6 separate regions of the Homo sapiens genome follow, and all the other regions are linked to region 1. Evidence: promoter capture Hi-C in 16 types of primary human blood cells and fetal thymus (Javierre and others, 2016). All regions are on one chromosome and are shown on one strand. Each heading gives the region's core, a stretch centred on a gene start or on the middle of the fragment in contact. The rest is flanking DNA. Distances are from core to core; before and after follow the strand shown.

Region 1 (4,801 bases), core at 13-2,512:
TCCTACCCTTTCATTCAGAGAAATGGAGTTTCTCCTAACAGATTAGTAATTACTGGAAAACAAACTGGGTAAATTCAACCGACACAGCAAGCTTAGGCAGATAAAACCATGAGGAAACATTCAATGTGGTAGCAGAAACCCCAGCAAGAATAGCTAACGTGTTCTCCCAAAAGCTATCTCTTATTGCTTGGAAATACTCCTCTTTAAAGGATTAAGAATCTCTGGCTGCTTAAGAAGAAAGGGTAATGGACAACGTTTTTCGTTTCTCTGCAAAGTCACGTTATGTGTAAAGCCAACAAAAAAATGTTTCTTAAAGGATCCAAGACGAACAACAAAACACCCCAAAATTACTCTCCCAGATCAACATTAAAAGTTTAGCACTGACATTTTCAGAAGAGTAAGCAACAATGAGCCCTGCCTCTCTTCACACGCTTCCAACCTTCCCTACGCACGCACTCCCAGCTCCAGACACCTTCGCCTTTACTGCAGCGATAAAGGACAGCACACCCACCGTCGCGGGAGGAGGAGGAAGAGCCTCTTTTTCTGCAGAAGAGAAACAGTTCACATCTTGTTCCTGTTGCCTGCTTCTGAAACCTAAAAACAGAAGCAGCAGTTAACTACTACCACATAAATCCAGGGGAAACAAATGCTTTTTCTAGGCTGTTTAAGTGTCTAGAAAATTTTAAAAAGGAATAAGGAGGCGGGAGCGAGGGAATTATAAGACACAAATGGAAGCAAATATCACCAGCAAGACTCGTTCTAGGTGTCGTCTTAAAGAGGAAGATTTTTCTGGCTCAGAAGTTTGCTGCCACTAGCAGGGGGCAGGCGGGACCAAAAGGTAGGAAGGGGGTGGAGAGACAGCTGCTGCCCCCCACCCAGAAGCCAGGCAGAGATAACACCCACCGGCTACACAGATCGGGCGACCAGAGCGCGCCCTCGAGCCCGCAGGGGCGGCTCCTACCCGGCGGGTCAAGGTCTGCGAAGCCCCGGGACGGGCACGGCTCTGAACGACCTCCAGGCTGGGCCCTCGGGGGCCCTCCAGTGTGGGCTCAGCTCCCACTCACATCCCTCGGCAGCGAGGACCAGGCCTCTCCCTGCGCCGCAGCAGCCCTCAGCCCCGACGCGCGCCGCAAGCCCGGGCCGAGGGGCCCGACCGGCCGAGAAGCCGAAGTGGCGACGCGAACACCCAAGCGAGCCGGGCGCCGGCCCAGCCTGTCAGCGCCGAGGGAGGCCGTTAGCGGCGTCCGCTGCTGCCCCCTTCTGCTCCTCTTCCTCTCTCCTTCCTGCAGCCCCACACCACTCCCACTTCGGGCAGCCGGGAAGCCCGTCACAGTTGTCTCCACCCTCTCCGGGGCCACACCGTCTTCTCAACGCCGCGGGCGACACTGGCTTCGCCGCCCTGCTAGCTTCGAACTCAGCCTCCCGGTTGGCCTGCAGTCTCCCCGAATGGCAGGAGACCGGGCCGGATAGAGGCTGGGGGAGAGCCGGACGCGCGTCCTGCAGTGCGCGTGCGCCGCTCGGTGCTGGTCGCGGGACCGGCAGGCGCGGGCCACGCAGGGCAGCTGCCTCTCGGGAAGCCGGCGAGCGCGCGTGGAGATTCCTGGGACGGCCCCTGGGCGTGAGCGCGCAAGGAAGTTAAGGCGGCGGCGCCTCGCGAAACGCTGGTGCCCGGCTGGAGCTAGGCGCCAGCGCTGGGCCCGGCCCTCACTAGATGGGCGGGTGTGTGTGTGGCCGCCGCCCTCCAGGGAAGCGGCCGGGAGTGACTCACCCTGGCTGGCTCCCCAGCGCGCAGCCTGCACTGGAGGAGGCCGGGCTGCCTCCGCGCGGAGACTCCCCTCCCGCACACTTCTCCGCTTTCGGCTTTTCCTTCCACCTCCCGGGTACAGCAGACCCGTCCTTCCCCAGTCCAGGCTGCTAGGCCGAGGGGAAGTGGCGCCGGGGGCCGGGGACAACGCGCTCACACACGCTGTTTCGTGGCAATGCGCCCTCGAGAGCCTGACTCCCATCAGCCACCTTGGCTGGAAAGGGGTGAGGGTGGGATGAAGCGCCCAGCCGCCTGCGGGTTGGCAACAAGGCCTAGCGAATGTTTCTCCTAGAGGAGAAACAACTTTACCGGCGTGGCCTGGTGTAGCCCGGGAGAGGGTGGAGACAACGGCTGTGACGGGCTTCCCGGCTGCCAAAGGGCCTCATTCATTCATTCAAATATTTACTGAGTGTCTACTAGGTGCCGGGCTGTAGGTCCCCAGAGATACCAGGTGAACACGACCCCACACACTCCTTGCCCTACTGGATTGTATTCTGATGGAAGCGACAAAACAACAAACAACGCTTTAAATGCATAATGTGCGGGGTGTGTAATTGCCACTAAGAAAATGCATAGTTTTCTGCTGCCATATACATAATAACAAAGAAAAGGAGTAGAAAGTGAGGAGGGGGTGTGCTATTTTACGGTGGCCAGGAACGATTTCCTAGAATAAGTGACATTTGAGCAGAGATCTGAAGGATGAGAATGAACCAGTCCCATGACTATCTGGGAAAAGAATTTCAGGCAGAGGGACTCCTGAAGGCAAAGACCTTGAGAAGGGAAAGTGTTTGGCAAGTTCAAGGATCAGGAAAGAGGTCACTGTGGCTGGAGGACACGGAAGGAGGGGGCAGTGGTAAGAGGTGAGGCCAAAGAAGTAGCCTGGCACCAGATCGTGTAGGGATTTTTTTCAAGTATTAGCCCTCTTTCTGTCAACCTAAATGAAGTGACGCATTCATAGCTCCTGTTTCCCCATACACAACTGATGCTGCTCTTCAGGTCTGTCTTGCACTTAATGGTTTCTTTAAATAAACCTCACCAAAGCAACTCCTGCATTTCTTCTTACATAAGACCCATTGCAAAAGGTCTTTAAGCAAATGATAGCAGCATAGGAAATTACTTGAATTCACCCTGAATCTTTTAAATAATGAACTAGAGCTGTATAAGAGGGAGGGATTTACAGGAAAATTGCATTCCTACGGCTACTGCTTCATAGGTAATATATGGGCAAAGTTAGTAAGAATTTCTAATTATTAATTGTGACTCAATGGCTTAGAATATCAAGGCCGCAATTACAAACAGTGACTACCAAAAGAGTTCCTTTTTTCCTGCAAACAAAAACTGCTACTGAGGTAAAAGCTAGAACACAGACCCACATAATGAAGAAGAGCTAAAGATGAGCTTAACGTCATGGGTAAATGAAAAGCATCACAACTGTGGAAATGGAAATGTGATATTTTGTGAGGGGAAGAAAATGCTTGTTTTAGAACTCTGAAACAGTATTACTTTCATTATAAGTGATGTTTCTATATTTTGCAGTGATATACTTATGTAACTAGGCATGGTATCTCTTACTGTCCACAGCCTGTTTGCAGGGAGAAGCCATTTGAAATTGGTGAATTGCAGGGAGAAGCCATTTGGAAGTGGTGAATATTGAGGATATTTTTGTGGGGGAGCAGGTTATTTTCTTAATATTAGAGATGTGGGTATGGAAGACAAGGTGGACAAGGGGTATATTATTCATAAGCCTATAGAATTGAGAAATCTTCTGTCTCCCCACATAGAAAGATGAAGCAACTTGCCTCCTGTCATTCAGAAAGTGAAAGCCTCCCTCATCACTAAGACATGATTTTAAGTCAATGCTAACCTGGAATGTTGAGCTTTTTTCACTCTGTATTAACAGAACTTTTGAGCTCTTTATGTGATTCCTGGTAGTGGCATCACTAGAAATTTGCTACTCAAGGCAAACATTTCAGGAAATTTCCCTTATTCTTTGATAATGATGAAAAGAATTCCAAGGAATTTGACCAAGTCTTTCAAAACATTCATACAATATGAAGAAACAAGAAATATGAGCTGTAAGGTAACACATTTAGATTCAAAACTTTGTGGCAAGATCTAATGGGAAAACTTAACAGCTAGTTGTTGACTGTGGGGCTGTGTGTAGTGTCTTGAGGTTTTGTCCTTCCAGTGTTGGCCAGCATGGCAGCAGTGATTCTTGACTGCTATGCCCAAACCTTCCCCCCACCCCAACAAGACTGCCTCAGTAAGTGTGAGATGGCGCATTGGCTTCTATAACTTTTTAACATTTTTAGGTGGTTTGACATAAAGCCACGGTTGAAAATCCATGGCCAAGGGTTTAAGAACTTACGCTTTAAGAGTCCAGACCACCCAGGTTTCTTTCAATCACAGCTTTTGCCAGGAAAGTTTATTTAGATTTTCTAAGCCTCTGTTTCCTCATCAGTATAATGAGGATAATAATCTCCCCTGTAGAGAGATTTTGAAGATTAGGTGAAAAAGTATTTTAAAACCCTTAGCACAGTTATCAAATGTCTATTATATCTGTGGCAGGACCAATTTACAGATATAACCAAGCTGGGAGGTATAAGAAATTTGTTGAATTTTATTAGGAAGATTGAAGTATTTGTCACAGTTTATTGCACTACACAGGACTGTGTGGGCTGGTAGGATAAGGGCTGAGTTGTAATAGAGATAAATGTGAAGATCTCCATTTGAATTTTAAAAAACAGAACTATATCATTAAATGATGAGACTGAAAACATCATTCTTAAGGAGGGACATAAATGTGAGCACAAAAAAAGATGCAGGAAAGTCCTTGGAAAGGGAAACAGGCTCAAACGAAGGGCTGGGGAGAAGTCCAGGAGTTAGTTTGTTTCTTTCCAAAACAGGGAAGATGTACTTTCCTGAAGGCAGAAAGGAATAAAATATGGAAAGAGGCTTATTTATTCCAAATGTAGGATTATAAGCCAAAAGACAAAG
Region 2 (4,297 bases), core at 1-2,500, 850 kb before region 1:
CTGCGGACGCTGGTGCAGCTCTCGCTGCAGCAGCTCGTGCTACGCGGGGCCGCTGGACACCGCGGGGAGTTCGACGCGCTCCAAGCCAGGTACCGGCCGCTCCCTCCTGGCACGGCCCGCGCGTCCGTTTGCGGCTCCTGCGCAGGCTCCGGGGCACCGCACCTGTGTGCACCCGCCCCTGCCGGACCGCTGGGACTCGCTGACCCCTCCCAGGCTGCACGTGGGGTGGGGTGACCTTGCTTGTCCTTCTTCTGGGGTCTGAATTGCCGGGACTTGGGGCTTGCCTGTCCCCGGTTAAGCTCGTGGTGCAGATTGGGGTTGCCAGGTAGATTGAACCTGCTTTCCACTGTCTGCCCTTCGTGCAGATGGTTGGTTGTGAGTCGTCTCCCCATATTCTGGAACAGCTTCCCCTTTTTACCTTGCTTAGCCCTTCTGCTTTCCAGATGGAAATTTGTGTACCTAGACTGTTGTATAAATTCGCTTTGGGGGCGGGGAGTTTTGGAAGGCGCTAGTGCACTGTTCTAACTTTCTGAGGGTTACAGCCCCCACATCTGAAGGCTATAGAAACTCTTTCTGGAACACCGCCCAGTCAAAATTTGGTATGCAGTCTGATAAATTCTCAGATCCCTGCAGTTTATCTTTAGGCCCCTTGGATTAGTGACTGTGTAAGGTTTGACTTTTTTTTTTTTTTTTAAGACCTTTAAGAATGCTAGGAAAGGTGATTAAGTCAAAGATATTGTAACCCAGGTGTGTCAAAGCTCATGAAGTGTTAAGCTGGCGTCAAGTTTTCAACAGCTACTGTGTTCTAAAAAGTTTTTGCTAGAATGCAAAGTGTTGCAAGCTTATTAAGGACTTTCTGAAACGTCTCCCACCCCCACTTCCAGCTTTCCCCACTTGGAATGCAGTGAAAAGACAAAAACAGTTTTGTTTTCATTAGGGGTACAGTTGGTTTTGGCCTGAATTGAAGTTATTAGACCTTGGGTGTATGCTAGGAGGGCTAGGTCCATCAAAAGTTTCCCCCGCCCGCCTTATTTAACCTCTTGACTTGATTATTTTTGCTCATTGGTTTCTGCTACTTAAAGTCATTAACCCAGAATCTGTAACGTTCAGGAGTATGCACAGTGAAGTTATATTCTATCCTGCTTAGTCTTTAGCTTTTTTTGTTTGTTTTCTGAGACAGGGCCTGGCTCTGTCGCCCAGGCTGGAGTGCAGTGGCTCCATCTCGGGTCTGTAGCCTCCACCTCCCAGGTTCAAGCAGTCCTCCCACCTCAGCCTCTTGAGTAGCTGGGACTACAGGCGGATAGTAGTCTACATCTGGCTAGTTTTTGTAGTTTTAGAAGAGATGGGGTTTCACCATGTTGCCCAGGCTGGTCTCAAACTCCTGAGCTCAAGCAATCCACCCACCTCAGCCTCCGAAAGTCCTGGGATTACAGGCGTGAGCCACCGTGCCTGGCCAGTGGTCACACGTTTTGAATACATCCCTAGTCCTTGTATTGGTTTGATATGGGGAGAAGTTGGGAGTGGGATGGTGGAGAAAACTGAAGGGGTCAACTCGTGGGAGGCAACAATAAAAATATGGAACTTTATAAGTGATGTTCACTTGGTGTCTGAAATAATGAAAGGCGGTCCCTTTTATATAAGGCAAAGAACTAAGCTTTTTTGGGGAGGAAGGGGTGTGTAGTGGAAAAGTTACCCACGCTAAGTGTCAATTTTAACTACAAACCTTTGTTATTCTTTTGGTTACTTCCAGGGATTATCTTGAACACATAACCTCCATTGGCCCCAGGACTACAGGAAGTCCAGAAAATGAAATTCTGACCGTGCACTACCTTTTGGAACAGATTAAACTGATTGAAGTGCAAAGCAACAGCCTTCATAAGATTTCAGTAGATGTACAACGGCCCACAGGCTCTTTTAGCATTGATTTCTTGGGAGGTTTTACAAGCTATTATGACAACATCACCAATGTTGTGGTAAAGCTGGAACCCAGAGATGGAGCCCAGCATGCTGTCTTGGCTAATTGTCATTTTGACTCAGTAGCAAACTCACCAGGTATGTACCTGTTTTTTAGTCATTTGGAACTTGTCACAGCCCAGAAAGTTTATTAACATAACCCCAAGCTACTTGGGCAATTGTGGGGACCATTTTCTTGGGCAAACCTTTTTTCTTTGTGATGGAAAGCAGGATAATTAGGATAGTATCATTTAGTTTAGGATCTAACCATTCTGTCTTCTCTTAAGTGCTTTATTAATATTATTTTTTGGTGTTAATGCCAGCAGCCCAGTGATAAGACTTGGAATGTTTCTGGTAGACTGAAGCAGCTTTCTCAATGTTACCAGACAGTGTGTGTGTCCTAGTGTCCTGGAGTTAGGTTCTGACACTTAGAAAGTGTTTTACTCAGCTGGGTGTTATACTAGGCTTTGGGGATACCACATAAGGACAGTCCCTGCCTTCAAGGGTTACTGCATGGTTTTAGAGCAGGGGTGTCCAATCTTTTGGCTGCCCTGGGCCACATTGGAAGAAGAAGAATTGTCATGGGCCACACATAATATACACTAATGATGGCTGATGAGCTTAAAAAAAAAAACTCATGTTTTAAGAAAGTTTACAAATTTGTATTGGGCTGCATTCAAAGCTGTCCTGGGCTGCGGGTTGGCGGATATCTCTTCTAGCAGATTCTGTTGACCTATAAAGTGAGAATTTTGCTCCACTGAGGGTGCCATACTGTTAAAGTACCTAATTAATGTGTAAATCTTTCTCTGAAAATCATTTGGCAAAATAGAATACTTGCATTTAGGACAGTGCCTGATGCAGTATATATTTGTCAAATGAATGGGAATCCCCTAAATTGAACTTCCATTTATTAAAATATTTATTTTTCAGAAAATTGTATTCAGTGGTTAAAGGGATTGTAAATAGGGATGGAAAATAGCATTTACAATGGCATAGCATTTTAGTGGTAGACAAGACCTGAGATGGCATCTGGCTGAACCCCTCATTTGATACAGGAGTACATTTAGCTAGCTGGTCATCGCTGATCAGAGACAAAACTAGGATAAGATGCTGGATTTCCTGGCCAGTCAGTTCTTTCAGCTACATTTGAAAGGAAAAAGAATATTAGGGTGTAATTAATACTCCCTTTTGCAAATTGCTTAACTTCTTAGTTTCTCATCTGTGTAATGGAGAAAATAATAGTACTTTCCTAATAGTGTTGCTTGGAGGATTAAAAATAAGTAAAACGCTAAAATAGTACCTGGCATGGAAAGTGATTTTTAAAAGTTTTTATTAACTCTTATGTAATATTAACACTTCTGGATTACTCGAACTTATAGCAGGCCAAATTTGAACGTCTAGAGTTATACAAAATGTAAGTAAAATTTATTTGCTTGATAAAATGATTCATATTAGAATATCTTCATTTAGAAAGCTTGACAATTGCGTTTAGAATGTAACTTGCATTTTCAAAAATCAGTATACACACGTTTGTTAAATAAGCCAGAAGTACCTTCGTGTGCTGCTGGGGTAACCAGTGGTTTAGTGTTTTTTTTTTTTTTTTTTTGGCTGGGGGGCCAAGTCTCACTCTGTCACCAGGCTGGCATGCAGTGGCACAATCTTGGCTCACTGCATCCTCTGCCTCCCGGGTTTAAGCGATTCTCCTACTGTGCCACCACACTCGGCTGATTTTTTTTGTATTTTTGGCAGCGACAGGGTTTCACCATGTTGGCCAGGCTGGTCTTGAACTCCTGACCTCAAGTGATCCGCCTACCTCAGTCTCCCAAATTTCTGAGATTATAGGTGTGAGCCACTGTGCCCGGCCACCAGTGGTTTTTTTATGTCCATTTCAAAGCAGTAATAAATGTCACTCTTTGCCCACTATTATGATGCTTAAATTCTGGGAAGCGGCAAATAAACACCATGGTTGCTTAAGAACATTATATAAGAAGGCTGTATATACAAGAATTAGCAGCAAATGTAGGGACAAAAGAAAAAAGTTTCCCCTCTACCCTTCATAGTTCTTAGCTGAGTGGACCCCTGTAACAAAAGACAGGTTAAAAAGAGAAAAACCAAATAGAAGTTTATTAACACATGCACTTCATGTACATGGGAGATACTCAAGGAAAATGAGTACATCTCAAAGAGGTGGCTTAGAAATCTGGCTTATGTAGCATCTTCAACCAAACAATACATTTTTAGAGAAGTGACAAAGGAAAAGGACCTTGAGTCTCGAGGGGTGGCAAATTGAAGGAAGGCAAATAAATGGTAGAGAAAGGTTAGTTAGTAAAGTGTTATATAGATT
Region 3 (4,662 bases), core at 333-2,832, 610 kb before region 1:
TCATCCCTAAGGATGTCCAGAGATCCAAGTGCAGAAGGAGAATGTGGTGAGGCTATTTATTCCCCCAGTGCCTTCCCTGCTGGGCTATGGATGAACAGTGGCTGACTTCATCTAGGAAAGAGCTATGGCTTCTGTCCCGTAGCCCCTTTTATACCTATAGCTCTCTCTCTCTGGATTCAAGTAACCACTTACTCCCCTTCTTCATCCTTAGGACTTAGGTATGATAATGATTCCCCTCTGTAGGTTGCCCATTGGAAAGTGTCAGCATCCTTTGTTGGGTGCCTTAGCCCTGTCCACAACTTTGTAAATAATTCTGTCACTCAACTCCTCGATGACGCCTTTTGAATATGCCATATATTTCCTGCTGAGATCCTAACTGGTACGTTCTCCTTCCTCACTTCTCTGTCCCACGCCAATTCAGTTCTCCTCTTGAAGCAACCAATTTTAGAAGTTTCCTGTATTTATGCAATATGAGCATAAAGGAATATATCTAGTCCATTTATCCTTTCTTGTGCAAATTGTAGTATATTATATGTCCTGTTCTGCACTGTAGTTGTTTTTTATCCCACATAATAGTATATCCTAGAGATCATTCTATAGCAGTATGTAGGGGTCTTTCTTATTACCTTTTTTTTTTCGGGTTTAGAGCAGAAATTTAATAGGTGAAAGAATGAGAATAGCTCTCTGCTACAGAGAGGGATCCTGGAAAGATAGGTTGCCAATTCACAGTTTGGATACGGAGGCTTTTATAAGAAACGGATAGGGGGCTGGTCATATCATTTGCATAAGGTGTGCATTTCTGGTAATTCCACCCCATCTTCCTAGTGTGGATGTGGGCTCTTAGCTTGAATTACTCCATGTTGCTTCGTTTCCCTTACTGCACATGTGTCAGGGGACAGAATTTTCCATTGCAGGTATGTCTGGGCAAGTCTCCTGTATAGTCTTTCTTATCTATGCAGCTGAGGGGATGTCTTAGTCAAGCCCCCTTATCTCTTGAGCAACTTCCCTTATCTATGCCTGCAACTTGATTTTTTCAGGCTGTTCTTTTGTTTGAAATAATTTAATCTTATTACTTTTTATGGCTGCATTATATTCCATTTTATAGGTGCACAATTTTTAGCCAGCCTTCTATCAACAGACATTTAGGTTGTTTCCAGTCACTTACTTTTACAAATGTTGCTTTAAGGAATAACCTTGTATGTAGGTTATTTCTCCTTATTTTATGTATGAGGAAAATGAAACAGAAAGAGATTAAGTTGTCTAAAGTCAGTCATTGGCAGAGTCTATGTCATTAGTAACACTACTAACACTCAGTTAGTAGAGTGAGACTTGAGTGACCTGTATAGTCTTCATTATGAGACTGGAGTGATCTGAATCTTGCTGAGGGACCCCCACAAAATTTACTGCACATTTCCACTCTTCTTAAAATTTTCACCCTTACACATTTATTTCCTAGCATCATGGTTAAAAGCATGGATTGTATAGCCACAATGCTAGGTTGTATTTTCCACTCCATTACTTATTAGCTGTTGACATTGGACAAGTCACAACCTTTCAGTGCCTCACTTTCCTCATATATAAAATAGTTCCTCATGGTGTTGCTAAGGGCATTAAGTGCCTGCCACATGTTAAGGGCCATATAAGCACTGACTCTTATTAGTAGTGCTCTTATCATTCTTTTGGCTTGTGGCTGTGCTCCATTATTAACATTAAAACACAGCCTGAGAGCTATCTCCTATTTCATCAGTAGTTTACCTTTTATGTAAGTGAGATCATCAGATCACTTCTTGATAGGAAATTAGGGCAGATAATTAGGGATATGTGATATCCCTTGATATGTGAAATGGGGCCTAAATGAAAGGGAGTTTCTGAAGATAACTTCACCCACTTCACAGTTTCATTCTGATATTCCTGTTCACATATACTTAAAACAGTGAGACCCACAAATATTTCCTGAACTGGATTCATTGTCCATAACCCCTCCACCATTCACCATCCTTTACCAACAAAACCAAACCCCATCTTCCTCTCACAAGCCCACATCACATTCAGGTGGATCAATTAACACATCTCAGAATTATCCTTGACTGGTCTCTTCCACATCATCCACATCAAATTTCTTATCAAGCCCTGTAGATTATTAATTCTTAATAGTTTTCATCTTCATTCCCATCCCTTTTTCTCTATCTCCTTTGAGATTGCCTTAACTCATACTCATATTTCTGTGGGCCATTGCAGAACTTTGGTTAGTCTTTCCCACTCTCTCTCCCTCCCCTCCCTCTCTTTCTCTCTTTGCTCTGCAAATATGTATTGAGTGGCTGTTATTTATCAGGCCTTGAACTGGCACAGGGATGCAAAAGTGAATAAGACAGAGGGATCCTAAAGCCAACTGCAACCTTAACGTAATCCTAATACTCAATTCATGAAATTTTTACTCCAAAGAGAATCAGGTATTAAACATACAGTTATACAAATAATTGGTTCAGGATAACAGGAATCTCTGTTTTCTGCTATAGTCTCTCCCTGAAACAGAGAGATTATTAGCTCAGGCTTTATGTCTGGGTGGTGAGGGCTTCCTAGTCTCAGAAATGCATTACAACCTTTGCTTTAGAAAGTCTCTGTGATGGTAAGAACTGGAGTTTGGAGGAGAAGACGAAAGGAAGTGGCCTGACCCTAACGGAAAGGAGAATGCCTGAGACTGTCCTGGATAGGGACTTGGGGGAACAGGTTTGCAGTAGGTTCTATAAGGCTTTGGGATGTTATCACACTTTTGCATAGTTTTCCAAAGACTATGACACTTGCAGTGGGAGAGGCATAGGTAGATGTCTGTGGTGGCCTGGCCTGAGTGCTCTGGCCCCCAAAGCAGTGGCAAGAATTCCTTGTGGAGGACCTGTGGTCAAAAGAGAGAACTTTGTGGGAGCATCTCTGCAGTCTGCCAAGGGCAGTAGGGCCTACCAAATTCCAAAGGACCAGCCCAATGACCTGAGGGACCAAAGACCAGGCCCTCCTCCCTTTTCATGGGGCTGTGTAAGCCCTAGGGCCCTAGTTGGCCTGCCACTGGGTGAGTGTGGTGGGGTGTAATAATTGCAGTTACCTCTGTGTAAGACAATAAAAAATGGTGGCTCCACATGAACCTTATTCCATAAGCTATTTCTATATGGTTAGTTAATTTCTATTCTTTTTCTTAAAAATAAACCAAAAAGGAGTTTTTTTAAAGTCACAAATTAGTTGTGTTATCATGTACATCACAAATTCCCTCTGGGACTCTGTTTCCTTATCTGTGAAATGTGGGGGATGATGTTGGATTTCTGTTCCAGCTCTACTATCCCAAGGTTTTATGTTGTCTCATCCAGAGAACAGAATAGTTAATACAATGACTTGAGAGTTTCTTTCTTTGCTTTAATCATGTTGATTACACTCCCAGCAAAGAAAATGAAAGCTGATGAGATCTATCTACATCACCAAGTATCAGAGTTTATATAATTCATGCTAATTTCTGTAAACTCTCCCTGTAGATGAAACATGCAGTTAGCAGTGAAGTTGAAGCAAGAAATGCTATATCAAGAGCACATGAACTGTCTTTGTTTGAGGCAGATCATGTGAAGTTGATACCGAGATGACTTTCTCACGTGTGACTGGTGACACTGGAAAGAGGAGGAAGGAAATTTTTTGACTTAAGAGACTCTTTATGCTAAATGAACAGGAAAACTCCCCTTCCTCCCTTGAGTAACATGAATCTTACTTGCCACCAGGCCTTTCCAGATGGGGAGTGAACAAGGCTTCATTGGCAAATAGCCAGCTTCTTCCATGGACCTAAGGGGGTTGTTAGAGAATATGCTTTATTGATGTGGCATTTAATTACAGAAGTAGGTATTTTGAGGGAGGAGGGTGAGTAGGAGGAATCAATGTAATTTTTCAACTGGAGAAATAGATTGCTGGATGAGACAGTCATGTGTATTAGAGGTATGGACTCTGGAGACAGACTGCTGTGCTCTTAGCCTGGCTTTGCTACTTACAAGCTCTGTGACTTCGGGCAAATTACTCTCTGTGCCTTATATGTAAACTGGGGACAATAATGGTATCTAGCTCATAGGAGGATTATGTTATAAAGATTAAATAAGTTAGTATTTATAAAGCACATAGAATAGTGCCTGACACATGGTAAGAACTTTACAAAAAGTGTTTGTTGTTGTTGCTGTTATTTTTACATGCCAAGGCACACATATTGACTCAAACTTAGATATTTAAATCAAACTTCAGAACTCAGCTTTAAAGCAGTTCCATACCATATGGTAATAAATTCATCTGCCCGTTATGTGGTTATCAGAGTTAGTTAGATCACTGCAGATTTCTTCTGAGAACCAGGTAAAGAGGTTAAGAAAGAGGAGCTATGTAAGAAGGAAAATGTTGTGGACAGCCAGAAGAAATGTCTTATAACTGGTATTGTAAGTAAGAAATTTTCCAGCCAAACTTTTTCAAAAAAATGATACTGAATTACTTGATAAATCATGTTCTGGGGTTTCTCTAACTTCTCCAGGTGGATTGGAGTAGGTGTGTGTCTATACACCACCAGTATCAAGTGCTTTCAGCTTTCCTCCAAGATGTAGAAACATCAAACAAGTGCATCAAAACTTTTCAATCTATTTTTAAAAATCTAGTCAT
Region 4 (4,725 bases), core at 1,326-3,825, 630 kb before region 1:
AAAAATGGGCCACGCTTGGTGGCTCACGCCTGTAATCCCAGCACTTTGGGAGGCTGAGGCAGGTGGATCACGAGGTCAGGAGTTTGAGACCAGCCTGGCCAACATGGTGAAACCCTGTCTCTACTAAAAATACAAAAATTAGCCAGGCGTGGTGGTGGGCGCCTGTAATCCCAGCTACTTGGGAGGCTGAGGCAGGAGAATTGCTTGAACCCAGGAGGCGGAGGTTGTGGTGAGCCGAGATAGCGCCATTGCACTCCAGCCTGGGCAACACAGCGAGACTCCAACTCAAATAAATAATAAAATAAAAATGGATAAGAGCTTATAGAATAAGAATATAAAGAAAGAAAATAGTTTTTATACAGTTGCACAACATATTTGTGTTTTAAGCTGTTATTACAAGAGTTTAAAAGTTTAAAAAACTAAAGTTTATAAAGTAAAAAATTACAGTAAGCAAAGGTTAATTTATTATTGAAGAAAGAAAAATTTGTAAATAAATTTATTGCCTAAGTGTACAGTGTTTATAAAGTCTACAGTGGTGTATAGGAATGTTCTGGGCCTTCATATTCACTCACCACTCATCCAGTGACACCCAGAGCAACTTCCAGTCCTGCAAGCTCCATTCATAGTAAGTGCCTTGTATGGGTGTATCATTTTTTTTTAAATCTTTTATACCGTATTTTTACTGTAACTTTTCTGTGTTTAGATATGCAAATACTTATTGTGTTATAATTGCCTATAGTATTCAGTACAGTAACATGCTGTACAGGTATGTAACCTAGCAGCAATATGTTATATTGTCTAGGTATGTAGCAGACTACAACATCTAGTTTGGTGTAGACTCTTTGTTCACAGGGTGACAAAATTGTCTAACAATGCATTTCTCAGAACATATCCTTGTCATTAGGCAGTGTGTGACTGTACTTGGGAGTTCACTGTGTTATCTGCTCCACTTTGGTATGTGGTTGACATTTTAAATAATATTAATAAAAAATGTAAACATTTAAATTGAAAAGAACATGTCAGTAACTGGTCATATGTGACTAACCAGTCTACTTTGTCCACAATTCTCCTCACAGTTCATAGTGTTAAATATTAGTTCAAATCATTTAATTAACCTTAAAGGCAGGATGGCTTATTGTTAAGCCTTAATGGATCTGAGTGAGACTTTCTGGGCTGGAGCATTAGCACAAACTGGAAAATAAAGCCAAACAGCCTACTATTGCTAACCAAGCAAAATGGGAAGGGTCGTTATGTTTGCTCTTCACTTTAGTCTTTTTAGAAATGAAAACTGATTGGAAACAGAATTGATTCTACATAAATTAGCCAACAGTAACAATTGTGTTTGACCATGTCCCTATCAGTTCTCTAGTATAAAAAAAAAAAGTCATACCTGCATTTTCAGTGTGTATTCTTTACTAAAATGGCAAGAGGAGTTGGAACAAGACATTTTTAACCCTATAATTCTGAGATTCCCACCCTACTCTCTATTCAGACAAATATGCCTTCAATAATTTAGCCAAAATTTCATATTCATTGTGTCAGTCCATTATCTCCTGTATGTATCAGTGAACTTAGAGTCAAATTCATTACCCAATCATGACAGACTTTTTTCATCTAGCAGAACTGAAACTCTATACCCATGAAACATCAACTTCCCTTTCCTCCTTTTCCCCAGACCCTAATAACCATCATTCTGCTTTCTGTTTCTGTGAATTTGACTACTTCAGATATCACATATGAGTAGAATCATACAGTATTTGTCTTTTTGTGCTTGGCCTGTTTCACTTAGCATAATGCCCTGAAGGTCTATCAGTGTTGTAGCATGTGACAGGATATCTTTCCTTGTTAAGACTGAATAACATTTCATTGCATGTATATAGCACATTTTGTTAATCCATTCATCCGTCCATGGACATTTGAGTTGCTTCCACAACTTGGCTGTTGTAAATCTTGGCTATTGTAAATAGTGATGTTACGAACATGGGTGTGCAAATATCTTTTAGAGACCCTACTTTCAATTCTTTTGGATATATACGCAGAAGTGGGATTGCTGAATCATATGGTACTTCTACTTTTCAAATTTTTTAGGGACCTCCATACTCTTTTCCATAGTGGTTGCACCATTTTACAATCCCACCAACAGTGCACATGGGTTCCAATTTTTCCATATCCTTGCTAACACTTGTTATATTCAGGCTTTGTTTTTGTTTTTGCTTTTAAATGATAGCTATCCTAATGGGTGTGGTTTTGGTTTGCATTTCTCTGATGATTAGTGATGTTGAGCATTTTTTCATATACTTGTTGGCCATTTGTGTATCACCTTTGGAGAAATGTTACTACCTTTGATATACTGTCACATCAGGAGATCTGCATAAAAGGTCAAACCCCAAGAGGAAATCTTTAACTTTTGGGGGATATAATTTTAAATTATCTGTCAAGTTTGAATGGGGTTATTCCTTATACTTAAAAGAGTTATAACAATCTTACAAGTATGACATCTTAGTCAGAATGGGCCTTAAACACATCCAGTCCAATCTCCTGACCCAACAAGAATATAAGTGGATTTCATAGAGTAAATTTATATATATTTCAAACATAGAAATCATTTATAAAAGCCATTAAGAGTTGGTATAAAAGGAATATACCTGTGAAACTGAACAACCAATACACTTGAATGTAAGAACTTGAAAAGAGATATGGAAAAATGGCTACCAAATGCCCCCCAAAATACATTATTTCCTTTATTGTCTTTTATTTAAAAAAATTAGGACAGCTATATTTGCAGTCATCATCTCCTGAAAATATAATTATTAATTTTTTCTGTTCTGAGCACTTTCTAATTTTTCTTTTATCATCAAAAAATAATAAGTACTATTTTTAAAATTGTTAATTTGTTATCAAGGAGATCAGTTTTCCCAAAGTGTGGTCCAGTCATCTGGATCAGAATTGTCTAGAGATATATTTAAAATACAGATTCCTTGGCCAAGTCCCAGGCTTTCTGAATCCGGAGTCCTTGATGTTGATGGTATGGCCCAAGAATTAGCATTTTTAACAAATATCCACTATGAGTCTCATGCATATTAATAAGGTTGACATTTCTTTAGGAGGAAAAAAAAGTGTCCGGTGTGTACTTTGAATATGGTCTGGAATCTCTGTACTCAACCTTCTGTTAGTTTGTAAACAAGTCAAAAAGTGCACTGGATTCCTGGGAGATATGGCCATGATCCCTTCTCCAGCAGATCTGAATTTTCTTGATTTCCTAATGAGAGAGCTGTCTAAGGATGTAAAAATTGTGCTGTGAAAACCAGATAAGACCAAGTAGTGGAAGTGACCTTGGGTCATTCAATAGCAATTATGGGCAAGTTAAACCTGACCACCTGGCCCCTGCTGATCACCTTCATATTGCCCTGCTAGCCCTAAGTTACCTTTAACCGTTTTTTTACCTGCAGGTGGAAATGTTAATATCTGTCATACCAGGTTGTTATTTTTTTAAGTGCTAGAAACCAGGCACTGGCATTAATCTGTGCCTTTAGTGGTATATTGTGGATTAGTCACAAAGAACTTTGTGTCTAATGATTGGTACTGTTACATAAATTATAACAGTAACTAGCATTTATTCTGCACTTATGTACTAGATACTGCTCTAAGCATTTTACATTATTTAATTTTTATCCTCTCAACAATCACATGAGATACATATTATCCCCATTTTACAGATGAGGAAATTGGGGCTTAGAGAAGCTCAAGGCTCACAGAGCTGGAAAGTGATGGAGTCAAAACTTGAACCCAGAATCCCCAAGTTTATCAACTTCACTATACCATCTCTTTCCACAAACTTATTTTCTCACCAACTAAATGTATATAATAATTTATGTCAGGCTGTCTTATTAACTACATTTTTTTTAACTCCTAAGGTATTTGTTTTTACTCAATCCTTCATGTATAAAATTACTTTGCTAAAGAAATGAAGGAAATCAGTATTTTCACATTTACTTGGAGAATAATATCTTGTGTATCTTAGGCAAAAATGAAAACAATAATTTATCTAAAGGGTCATGTGAATTCTTGAAAATAAACAGTGCTGTAGATCTTTCTGTGGCATACATCCATGGATGTAAAAGTAAGAGAGGGAAGAAGGAATCACATCACCCAGGTATGATGTTGAAGGCTATAAATGAATCAAAGAGTTAACATTTAACAATAGGATCATATTTTAACACCATTTTCTTTCTTTCTTTTTCTTTTTTCTTTCTTTTTTGAAGGGGGTGAGGAGGGGAGGGACTGGGGCTGAAGAGTAAGGGCGGGGGAAGAAGTCTCCATATTTTAACAACATTAATCCATCCACATCATTTAATATATAATACACCAAAGGCAGAATCTCCCTGTACCCTGGTCACTTTCTCAGGATGCCCATTGTAATGCGCTACAGGCTCTTACTGTCCTCCACAGTTTCCTAGGAGTTGATTGTTTTCTTAGCTTATGCTGCCACTACGTGCTGCTTTCCATTAGAGGGGAATCTTCTTCTGTAGGACTTGGGAATCCCTTCTGTAGGAAGGGAGCAAAGTGTCCCAACATCTCCCCTAACTGGACACCTCTCTAACTCCAAGCAAACATATTGTTCTCAGAGGTTTTCTGAGGATTCCTGTGTGGTAAAGACAAAAATGTTTGCATGAATAGCAAGACTCCCTCCATATTTTTATCTTGACCAGTAAATGAAAACATGGG
Region 5 (4,647 bases), core at 1,399-3,898, 590 kb before region 1:
ACTCAGGTTTCTCAGTAAGCATAGACCATAGATGGGGTGAAGGATGGTGGTGGTGGCTAGAATGATTTTAATGACTAGTGTCAACAAGCTACATGACTGATGCACTCACATAGGAGGAATAGATCTGACAGGTGGTAGGAACATGTGGGCTGGATGGACAGAGACCCTTCTCCATTGGACATGCTGGAGATTCACTAAATATTTTTCCATATTGGCCTCTCTTGCCTCGACTCCATGCACACTGCTTTCAATTCAATTCCATGATAATTGTTAAGTATCTTCTATGTGCGAATCCTTGTACTGGGTTCTGGGACTATAAAAATGAATAAAATACCAGGTCCTCCTCCTAATACCTCAAAGGCTGTTGGAGAAAACTGAACACATATGTAATTATAAAATACTATATAATGAAGGCTTGACTGGTACAGGTGTAGGATATTTGGCCTGATGTCATGTCTGGCTTGCAAAATCTTAAGATCTAGCTTTGCCACTTACTAGCTGTGTGATGTGAGCAATTTATCTAACTTCACTGGGCCTTAGTTTGCTTACATGTTGATACGGTTTGGATTTGTGTCCCCGCCCAAATCTCATGTCGAATTGTGATGCCCAGTGTTGGAGGAGGGGCCTGGTGGGAGGTGATTGGATCATGGGAGTGGAATTTCCCTTTTCTGTTCTCATGATAATGAGTGAGTTCTTATGAGATCTGGTTGTTTAAAAGTGTGTAGCACCTCCCCCTGCTCTCCCTCTTCCTTTCTCAGGCCATGTAAGACCTGCCTGCTTCTCCTGCACCTTCTGCCATGATTGTAAGTTTCCTGAGGCTTCCCCAGCCTTGCTTCCTGTATAGCCTGTGGAACTGTGAGTCAATAAAATCTCTTTTCTTTATAAATTACCCAGTCTTAGGTAGTTCTTTATAGCAATGCAAGAACGGACTAATACACGTGTAAAATAGACAAGACAATACACTAAGTTATGAAGTTTAAATGAGATCATACATGTGAAGCTATTAGAGCAATGTCTGGTGCATGGTATGGAGATTAGCTATAATGGCAAACTTAATTAAACCTCATTTTGGATACCAGCAATGAGACATTGGCAATCTAATGTTTCAAACCCAGCACAAGGAGGAACATGTAGTCCAAACCCTGCCCAGCACTTTAAAACAGACATATCCCATGACAGGCTGTAAATACATTATCAGGAAAGACAACGCACTGAAAATATATTTTGTCTGAAATTTAGAAATATGTCCCCCAGGGGTGTTATATGATAGTGATATTTTTCTTATAATAGACACCTAACACCTTCTGCTATACCTTCTAGTAGAAGTCCACAGATGCATTTGGGCAATTGCAACATCTTAGCACAAAAGATGTCACTTTGATTCACTCTCCACTTTCAGTTCATGTGGTCTGGGTGGAGCTCCAGATGTAAGATATCACTTACATACTCTTTCTTTCAGTGACTGGTTCTGGAGAGGGCACAGCACATAAGTTTTCCACTGTAAATCTCAGGATTTTGCTGAGAATGCTGAGAAAAATACTCTGGCTTTTTTTTCTTGTAAAATATTTGAATCTGAAAGGTTTAATAATCATTGGCATCCATCTTGTAATTATGAGGAGATATCTTGTCTGAGAATGGCATCAACAAAAAGGAAACAGAGTGAAGAAATGATAGAGACAATTTGAATCCTGAAGACATTTGTTAGACCCCCTATACCCAGTTGCACATTTGGCTGCTCAGTTACATAAGCCAACACATTATCTTTTAAAAATTTAAGCCAGTTTGCATCAGGTTTTCTCTCATTTGCAGCCAATGAATTTTGATACAACTTCTACAAAATGTACTTAAAGGCCCGGGTGCGGTGGCTCACGCCTGTAATCCCAGCACTTTGGGAGGCTGAGGTGGGCAGATCACGAGGTCAGGAGATTGAGACCATCCTGGCTAACACGGTGAAACCCCGTCTCTACTAAAAATACAAAAAATTAGCCGGGCATGGCGGCGCACACCTGTAGTCCTAGCTACTTGGGAGGCTGAGGCGGGAGAATGGCATGAACCTGGGAGGCGGAGCTAGTAGTGAGCCGAGATCTTGCCACTGCACTCCAGCCTGGGCGACAGAGTGAGACTCCGTCTCAAAAATAAATAAATAAATAAATAAATAAATAAATAAATAAATAAATAAATAAGTTTATTTTGTCCTATGCTCATGGTCAAAGCAGATGCCCAATTTTTATTTTTCTCATAAAACCAATCAACAAATATACATTGGGCCCTTGTTACAGGGTCAGATGCCACAGAGTTTAAGACAATTCCTTGTGCTACAATCTAATTGGAATTTATAGTCTCTTTATTTTTTATCTCTTAATGGATATGTCTCCACTTCATCCAGATAGATTTTGATTGAGGAGTGAGTTGGTTATGTACCTCCTGTTCTCAACTCTAAGTCCATCCTCCTCTCCTCTGCTCTGATGTGCCAGGGCTGGAATTTTGACAAACTTCATTTGCCAGCCTCCCTTGCCAGCTAGCTTCCTGTTAAGTTCAGTAAATGGGAAGGCCTTGGGGACTGGAAGGTGGGAGGGGGAATTATTTCCTGTTTCTAGTTCCTGAATGTGTCATGCCTGTAGCAATAGGTAGTAGAAAGGTAGCTGCTGTCTGTAGTTCTAATATTTGGCATCCACTTTTTTGCTCTTTCAGTCTTCTTATATCTTTATTACAAGTTCCTAATATTAAATACACTCTATTTTTATGACTGGACTCTGGCTGATACTAGCACTTGATACTAGGTGTGGTCATAGGAAACAGATTCTCAAATTCTGACATTCTGGGATTGATTTGATTTGTTGTTAGTGTTGGATTGGTTTGAATTGAGAGCTGAACTCTTTGCCACTAGTAATCTATGGCATGCATTGACATCATGGTTGATTAAATTATCATCTGTTCTTGCTAGGGTTGAATACCAATGAAAGGCAAGTTTCTGGAGGCCAAGTAGCTGTTGCATTTAACCATTATGGTAGTAAAGATGATTATAAGGAATGTAATGTGGGATGGCTGCTTCTGATTGCACCAGGGTGCTTACAGGAAGAAACTAACAAGTTTAGGGCTTTCACCTCAAATCATATTCAGAGCACCAGAGGGCTTCTAAGACTGCCCTGAAAGTACCTCTTATTCCTTCTAATTACAGGAATCACTAGACATGAAAGACATGACTGAAAAATTCAACCCAAATCAATCATTCACAGACTGGCTAAGTCTCATATGTGAAAGTTTTCTCAGTAATTTGAAAGGAGTAGGACTCTGAGACTAGGAATGGGGACATTTTGGTGGATTTGGATGAAACTGAGAATGTTGAAACCCCCAAGCATCCCTGAGTTTCCCTTGATAGTGGAAGAAGCCTCTCATTTCTTGTCTAATGATATTAGCCTTTCCTTGTTTGAAAGCCTGTAATAAGCCCATATGAGGCACTTGCCTTGCAAGGGAGATCCCTATTCTTTCTCAGCCCCAGTGCTCCCAACTCTCATGGCCTTTATTTAGAGTCAGTTCCCGGAATATACGGAGGTGGGAAGAGCAGAGTCTAGCTCAGCAGGAAAAGTCTTATACTTCAAAAGAATCATAAGATTTTGTTAACTTAACATTAGAGGAAACCAGGCTAGTATGTATGGGGATGAATTCTAAAGGTATTAGACCCAGGAGCACAGAAGATAACATTGAACTGGGGCCAAATTAAGGTAGTCCTGATATACTACACTTTCCAGATAGTTTTGGACTTAATGTTGTAGATGATTACAGTAGTGGTATCACGCCTTCATGTAATTCCTTTACACATTGATTTTTGGCATGGTTATGTGCTTGCTTTGGATAATGGAACATTATTAGCAAATGTGATACAAACAGAGACTTGGAAAGCACTTGCACATTGGGGTTTTCTTTCTTTTTTGCTGTTTTTGGATTAGACTCTATGTTGAAGATGCCTGGACTAACCTACTGAAGATACGTGGTTTTACCAACAGCCAGCACCAATAGGAAGATATGAATGAAGCCATCTGAGACCAGCCATCTGGCAGCCAAACTGCCAACTGACTGCAAATGCATGAATGATCCCACTGACACCACGTAGAGCACAAATGAGTTGCCTCCACTGAGCCCAGCCCAAATTGTTATCCTATAAAATCATAAAAACATAAACAGTTGTTTTAAGTCACTAAGTTTTGGATAGTTTGTTATACAACAAAAGCTAGCTGAAACAAATGTATTAGCTAGAGCAGCTGTGAATGGCACTATTTGCTTAGTTGATTGGCTGAAATTTGGACTCACTGGTAGGTTACATTTAATGGTGTTGAGTTGCCAGAATTTCTCTGGAATAATGTATAGGAAGGATTCTAATGGCCTAAGCCATTAGAATCTCTAAGGAGATAGAAATAAAGGAGTGATTTATTATATGTAACTGTGCCTCTTCCCTCACCACACTTGGTCCTGAAAGAGCCTAAGGAATAGTTTCTTCTCTAAAGCATTGAAAAATGCTTTAATGGGAGAAGCCCCAGCACCCTTGAACATGTTCAGGCAGCTGCTTTCTATAGGCCAAGGATGTGGTGGGAAAATCTGCCTGATCTCAATGTAGATGATGAGATCCCAGAGTAGCGATCAGCATTTTTT
Region 6 (4,179 bases), core at 165-2,664, 580 kb before region 1:
AGGAGTGCTTAGGAATATAGACCGAGCAAAAGATGGCATGATTGTTCTGGGGCTAAGAACGAGGCTTCGCTGAAATGCTACCAAACAGGAAGATTCTATAAGCTGGAACTATTCAGTTGCCTTCCATGAATTAATAGAACAGTGGTTACTTTAAAATTCAAGCTGAGAGAGAAAAGAAAGTAAGAAAGAAAAGTAAAAATCATGCTTACTCACAGCACTGTTCACTTCCCTCTTTGTTGTGGTGACAGGTCTTTTTGTTGTGTCTGAAAAGGAAAAATTCCAGAAATGGAATAAGATTAATGAGAAAACTGTTTGGCTTATAGATTAAAATATGGCAGGACAAAAAGTAAATCTAAATAAATCCACATAGCGAAGCCCAAATGTTCACTGTGGCCTGGGACTTCGGATGGTAATGCATAAAGCAAAATCTGGCCCCTAGGCAAAGAGTGTGAACAAAGAAGTCTCACACTTTCCATTCCTCTGTCTACTCCTGGCCCTCAGGCACTTAAAGGCTGAGGGACTAATTTGGGTATTCAATCCAGGAAATGTCTGGCTGCAGAATTAGCTCTCCCTTTTCTGCTTTAGTCTTGACTGCTACTTCTGCCTGCCTTCCCTGGTCCAGGTCAGAATGTCTGATCAATTAATTTTGCACTAAGGTATAAGTGACTGATACTGGCTCAAAGTAACTCAAGTTACTGGTTCAGAAGCACAAGTTCACATAATGGGATGCTGCTCACCAGTAAGTTTCCTTGATTTCACATCTTTCTTTTAATTTTTTTTTTATATCAATAGGTTTAGGGGTACAGGTGGTTTTTGGTTACATGGATGAATTGTATACTGGTGAAGTCTGAATTTTAGTGCACCCGTCACCCAAATAGTGTACATTGAACTCAATATGCAGCTTTTTTATTCCTCACTGCCACTCCCTACTCTCTCCTTCTGAGTCTCCCATGCCCATTATACCACTCTGTATGCCTTTGCATATCCATAGCTTAGCTCCCACTTACAAGTGAGAATATATGGTATTTGGTTTTCCATTCCTGAGTTACTTCACTTGGAATAATGACCTCCAGTTCCATCCAAGTTGTTGCAAAACACATTATCTCATTCTTTTTCATGGCTGAGTAGTATTCCATGGTGTATATATACCACATTTTCTTTATCCACTTATTCGTCAATGGGATCTTAGGTTGGTTTCATATCTTTGCAATCATGAATAGGTTTTCACTTTTTTCTTAACCTCTGATTTCACATATTCCCTCCCACTCTGATTCTCTTTTAGGATTTAATGCCCAACTCCTGCCATTGCCTGGGTTCCTGAAATCAGTCCATTCCTAATTCTGCTTTTGCCCTATATACCAGGTTTTTAGTAATTCCCTCATGACTATCCTGAGCTTGGCCTGGAATTTGGAGGTCTCTATTCAGCACTGTAGTCTCTTTCATGAGGGTTTGCATTTGAAAGGAGCCCAATGGTTAACCCATAGGAATTGCTCTTGAATGTTGGCTTCAGTGGGTACCTCATTTATGCCTGAGGTTAGTGCTGCCATTCTCTGTGGGCCACAGGTAACCATAAACCAGCATATTTGGTCTTTAAACCTCTGTAAAATTCTGGCTCAATCTTCTAGGGCTGTGCCACTTAGAGTCTGGTTCATGGGCTGGTGCTGGTAGGTGAACTGTTACCAGCCTATGATGATAACTGTTCCTTCACAAGAGAGTTTAAGAAACACTGTTCTGAAGATCTGAAGACATGTTCTAAAGATCTAGATTCTGTAGCTGGTGACTTCTGCTGGATTCTAACTTGACTTTGCCATTGGCTCAGCAAGTCAATGTATAAGTCACTCAATTATTTTGGATTGAAACTTACTTTCTCCTTCCATTGTTCAAAGATAATAATATTGACTGAACCAATTTGTATTAAGCACTTTTGCAACAAATAGGCCACAAGTTTTGGAGTCAAACAGACCTGTATTCAAATCCCAGCTGTATGACTTTGGGAAGTCATATAACTTTTCTGAGCCTCACTTTCTTAACTCCAGCATAAAGACACTTCTCCTTGCCACAAGCAATTTTTGTGAAATTAAATGAGAAGTTTGTAAAGGGTCTAGCACAGTGGTTTTCAGTAGAACTTTCTGCAATGATGGAAATGTTGTATATCTGTACTGTCCAATACAGGAGCAATTATCTGTACATGGCTATTGAGCACTTACAGTGTGTGAATACTTAAGATGTGACTGATGAATTTTTATTTAACTTAAAAAGAGCCACAGATGGCTATTATATTGGACAGAGCAGATCTAGCATACTCACCTGCATATAGTAGGTTCAATGTTTAAAATTTCATTGAACATTTATTATATGCCAGGTAATTTTTTAGACACTGGGCATATATTGGTGAATCAGAGAAACACAGTTACTGTATTCTTGAAACGTAAAGACAAGCAGATGAAGCAGAATTTAACATTATTTTGCAACAGAAGTTGCCAGCTTCTTCTCTAGAGCCCAGCAGGTCACCCTCGAGCCCCAAACTGTTGAATGGTTCCTCTTAGGGGAAAATGGTAAGCAGGACCTTTTATGGACCAATAATGGCTGCCCTCCCAATACACTTTAGTACACAGAGCTAGTCACTGAGGTATAGGTGGGTAAATCTGTTCAGGAGCTAAGAAGCCATCTGGAAGGAAAGGGACCAAGCCTGCTGCTTCTTTACTTAACTTTGCAATGGACTAAGAAATTCAGGATACCAATGGCCCTAAGAGGAACTGAAGAGAAGGAAGTTAGGACTGGCGTCCCAGGCTCAACATGAGGGCCTAGAAGGGAAGAGGCTGGCTGTGTGCAGCTGTGGCTAAGGCAGGGACCTCCTCCTACCTCATCAACCCATAGGGGTCCTGCTTTGGGACCAATGACAGAGCATGTGTTGGGGAACCATAAGAACTGTAATCTTGTAGCACTGTGGTCTGTGTGGGGATCGGAACCAGCAAGGTTACCTTTGCACAGTGGATGGAGACATCTGGAAGGACCAGAGATTCTGCATGGCCGGAGTAGACAGCAACTGCTCAAAACCAGGGCCCTCTGGAGGACTAACCTAGCTGCCTAGCACTGGCCCTGTGGGCTAAGTAAGCTTTCTGGCAGTTTGTGGGAGGTGGAGAAGTACATGCTATAAGAGGGAGACACTGAACTTCTTGCTAAGATGGGCATGTGGGTACTTGAGGAATCAATTGGAAAATTAAAAGGGATGCAATTTAATTGGTAGTCCAAGCTATTAAAACAGATCCTAGACATGTGATTGTGTGCTGAGTATACTGAAAGAAGAAGTAGGTGCTATGGAAACATATAATAAGGGGATTTAATGTAATGGGTGTGGTGCGTGGAGGTAGAATTAGGAAAGACTTGATGAAGTATAAGCTTAGCTGAGATTTAAAAGATGACTCCAACTCAGGTGGACAACAAGAAAAAATATTTTAAGAAGAGACAATATTGTATGAGAAAACTCGGAATTGAAAGACTGCCATGCCTCTGAGGACTAGAAAATCCTGTGTGGTTAGAGCTTTAGACAATGAAGGTGATGGTGATGCAGTTAAAGCTGGAGACATGAGTCAAACCATCCTGGGCTCGTTGGAACTTCATCCAGTGAGCAATAAGAAGCCATGGAGAAGGTCTGGACAGAGGACACATGGTAGATTTATGATTTTTAAAAGCCTATTATAGCAAAAAGTGAGAACAGACCAAGTTGGAGGTAGCAGGAGTGAATACAGGGAAACCAGTTAGGAAGATTTCTCTGTAGTCCAAGTTGAACCACACTAGCGGCAGTGAAGTTCGGCCAATAAGCTGTAAAATGTTCCTTCTCTTGCTGCTTCCCCTTTTACAGATAGAAAGACCATCTCAAAGAAGATAGGCAATTTGTACAAGGTCAGAAAGCCAACAAATGGCAGCACAAGGTCCCAGCCTAGCCCTCTGACCCTGGTTTAAAGCTCTGTCTGCATCACCAGCAGTTCTCAACCCTTTTCCATGGCACACAAGTTTGTGTGCATGGCAGACACATGTAAGAAAGCAGATCTGAATGCAAGTGAGTTGGAGACAAGGGTTATATAGGCAACCATGATTTCTCTCTGGTTCATTAAAAATATAAAAGAAATTGTTTGCACATTTATTCACTTAATTCTTATTTGTAAGAAAGGTCTCCTA

Evidence for each region. The method cuts DNA at HindIII sites, captures the fragments that hold promoters and counts their contacts. A CHiCAGO score of 5 or more calls a contact.
Region 2: a contact is called between a fragment that was not itself captured here and the fragment with the promoter of JAK2 in region 1, in 1 of 17 cell types (naive B cells). The highest score is 5.3, in naive B cells.
Region 3: a fragment that was not itself captured here is called in contact with the fragment with the promoter of JAK2 in region 1 in 8 of 17 cell types (neutrophils, erythroblasts, M1 macrophages and 5 more); the score reaches 15.2 in neutrophils.
Region 4: a fragment that was not itself captured here is called in contact with the fragment with the promoter of JAK2 in region 1 in 8 of 17 cell types (M2 macrophages, monocytes, M0 macrophages and 5 more); the score reaches 8.6 in M2 macrophages.
Region 5: a fragment that was not itself captured here is called in contact with the fragment with the promoter of JAK2 in region 1 in 2 of 17 cell types (M0 macrophages and neutrophils); the score reaches 5.3 in M0 macrophages.
Region 6: a fragment that was not itself captured here is called in contact with the fragment with the promoter of JAK2 in region 1 in 2 of 17 cell types (M2 macrophages and M0 macrophages); the score reaches 5.9 in M2 macrophages.

Annotation. Positions count from the first base shown.
Region 1 is chr9:4,981,733-4,986,533 of GRCh38, reverse strand. JAK2 (Janus kinase 2) reads right to left here and starts at 1,262. Exons shown (of 25, transcript NM_004972.4): 1 at 904-1,262; 2 at 512-594. RefSeq lists enhancers at 460-509, 1,310-1,449, 1,378-2,211 and silencers at 840-1,169, 1,560-1,639, 1,680-1,729, 3,180-3,309. The HindIII fragment of the contact is 8,817 bases long and covers 94-4,801 here.
Region 2 is chr9:5,828,482-5,832,778 of GRCh38, reverse strand. It overlaps ERMP1 (endoplasmic reticulum metallopeptidase 1), which reads left to right. Exons shown (of 15, transcript NM_024896.3): 1 at 1-89; 2 at 1,751-2,052. Among named protein-coding and RNA genes, the nearest start is that of ERMP1, 2.5 kb to the left of the region's middle. RefSeq lists a silencer at 1-95. The HindIII fragment of the contact is 813 bases long and covers 844-1,656 here.
Region 3 is chr9:5,595,401-5,600,062 of GRCh38, reverse strand. All of the region lies in intron 1 of INCR1 (interferon stimulated noncoding RNA 1), which reads left to right. Among named protein-coding and RNA genes, the nearest start is that of RIC1, 31 kb to the left of the region's middle. The HindIII fragment of the contact is 9,312 bases long and covers 1-4,662 here.
Region 4 is chr9:5,614,913-5,619,637 of GRCh38, reverse strand. The region is part of intron 1 of INCR1 (interferon stimulated noncoding RNA 1); the gene reads left to right. Among named protein-coding and RNA genes, the nearest start is that of RIC1, 12 kb to the left of the region's middle. The HindIII fragment of the contact is 9,723 bases long and covers 1-4,725 here.
Region 5 is chr9:5,576,812-5,581,458 of GRCh38, reverse strand. All of the region lies in intron 1 of INCR1 (interferon stimulated noncoding RNA 1), which reads left to right. Among named protein-coding and RNA genes, the nearest start is that of RIC1, 50 kb to the left of the region's middle. The HindIII fragment of the contact is 7,807 bases long and covers 1-4,647 here.
Region 6 is chr9:5,559,246-5,563,424 of GRCh38, reverse strand. It overlaps PDCD1LG2 (programmed cell death 1 ligand 2), which reads right to left. Exons shown (of 7, transcript NM_025239.4): 6 at 214-263. All of the region lies in intron 1 of INCR1 (interferon stimulated noncoding RNA 1), which reads left to right. Among named protein-coding and RNA genes, the nearest start is that of PDCD1LG2, 51 kb to the right of the region's middle. RefSeq lists a silencer at 162-261. The HindIII fragment of the contact is 3,406 bases long and covers 1-3,117 here.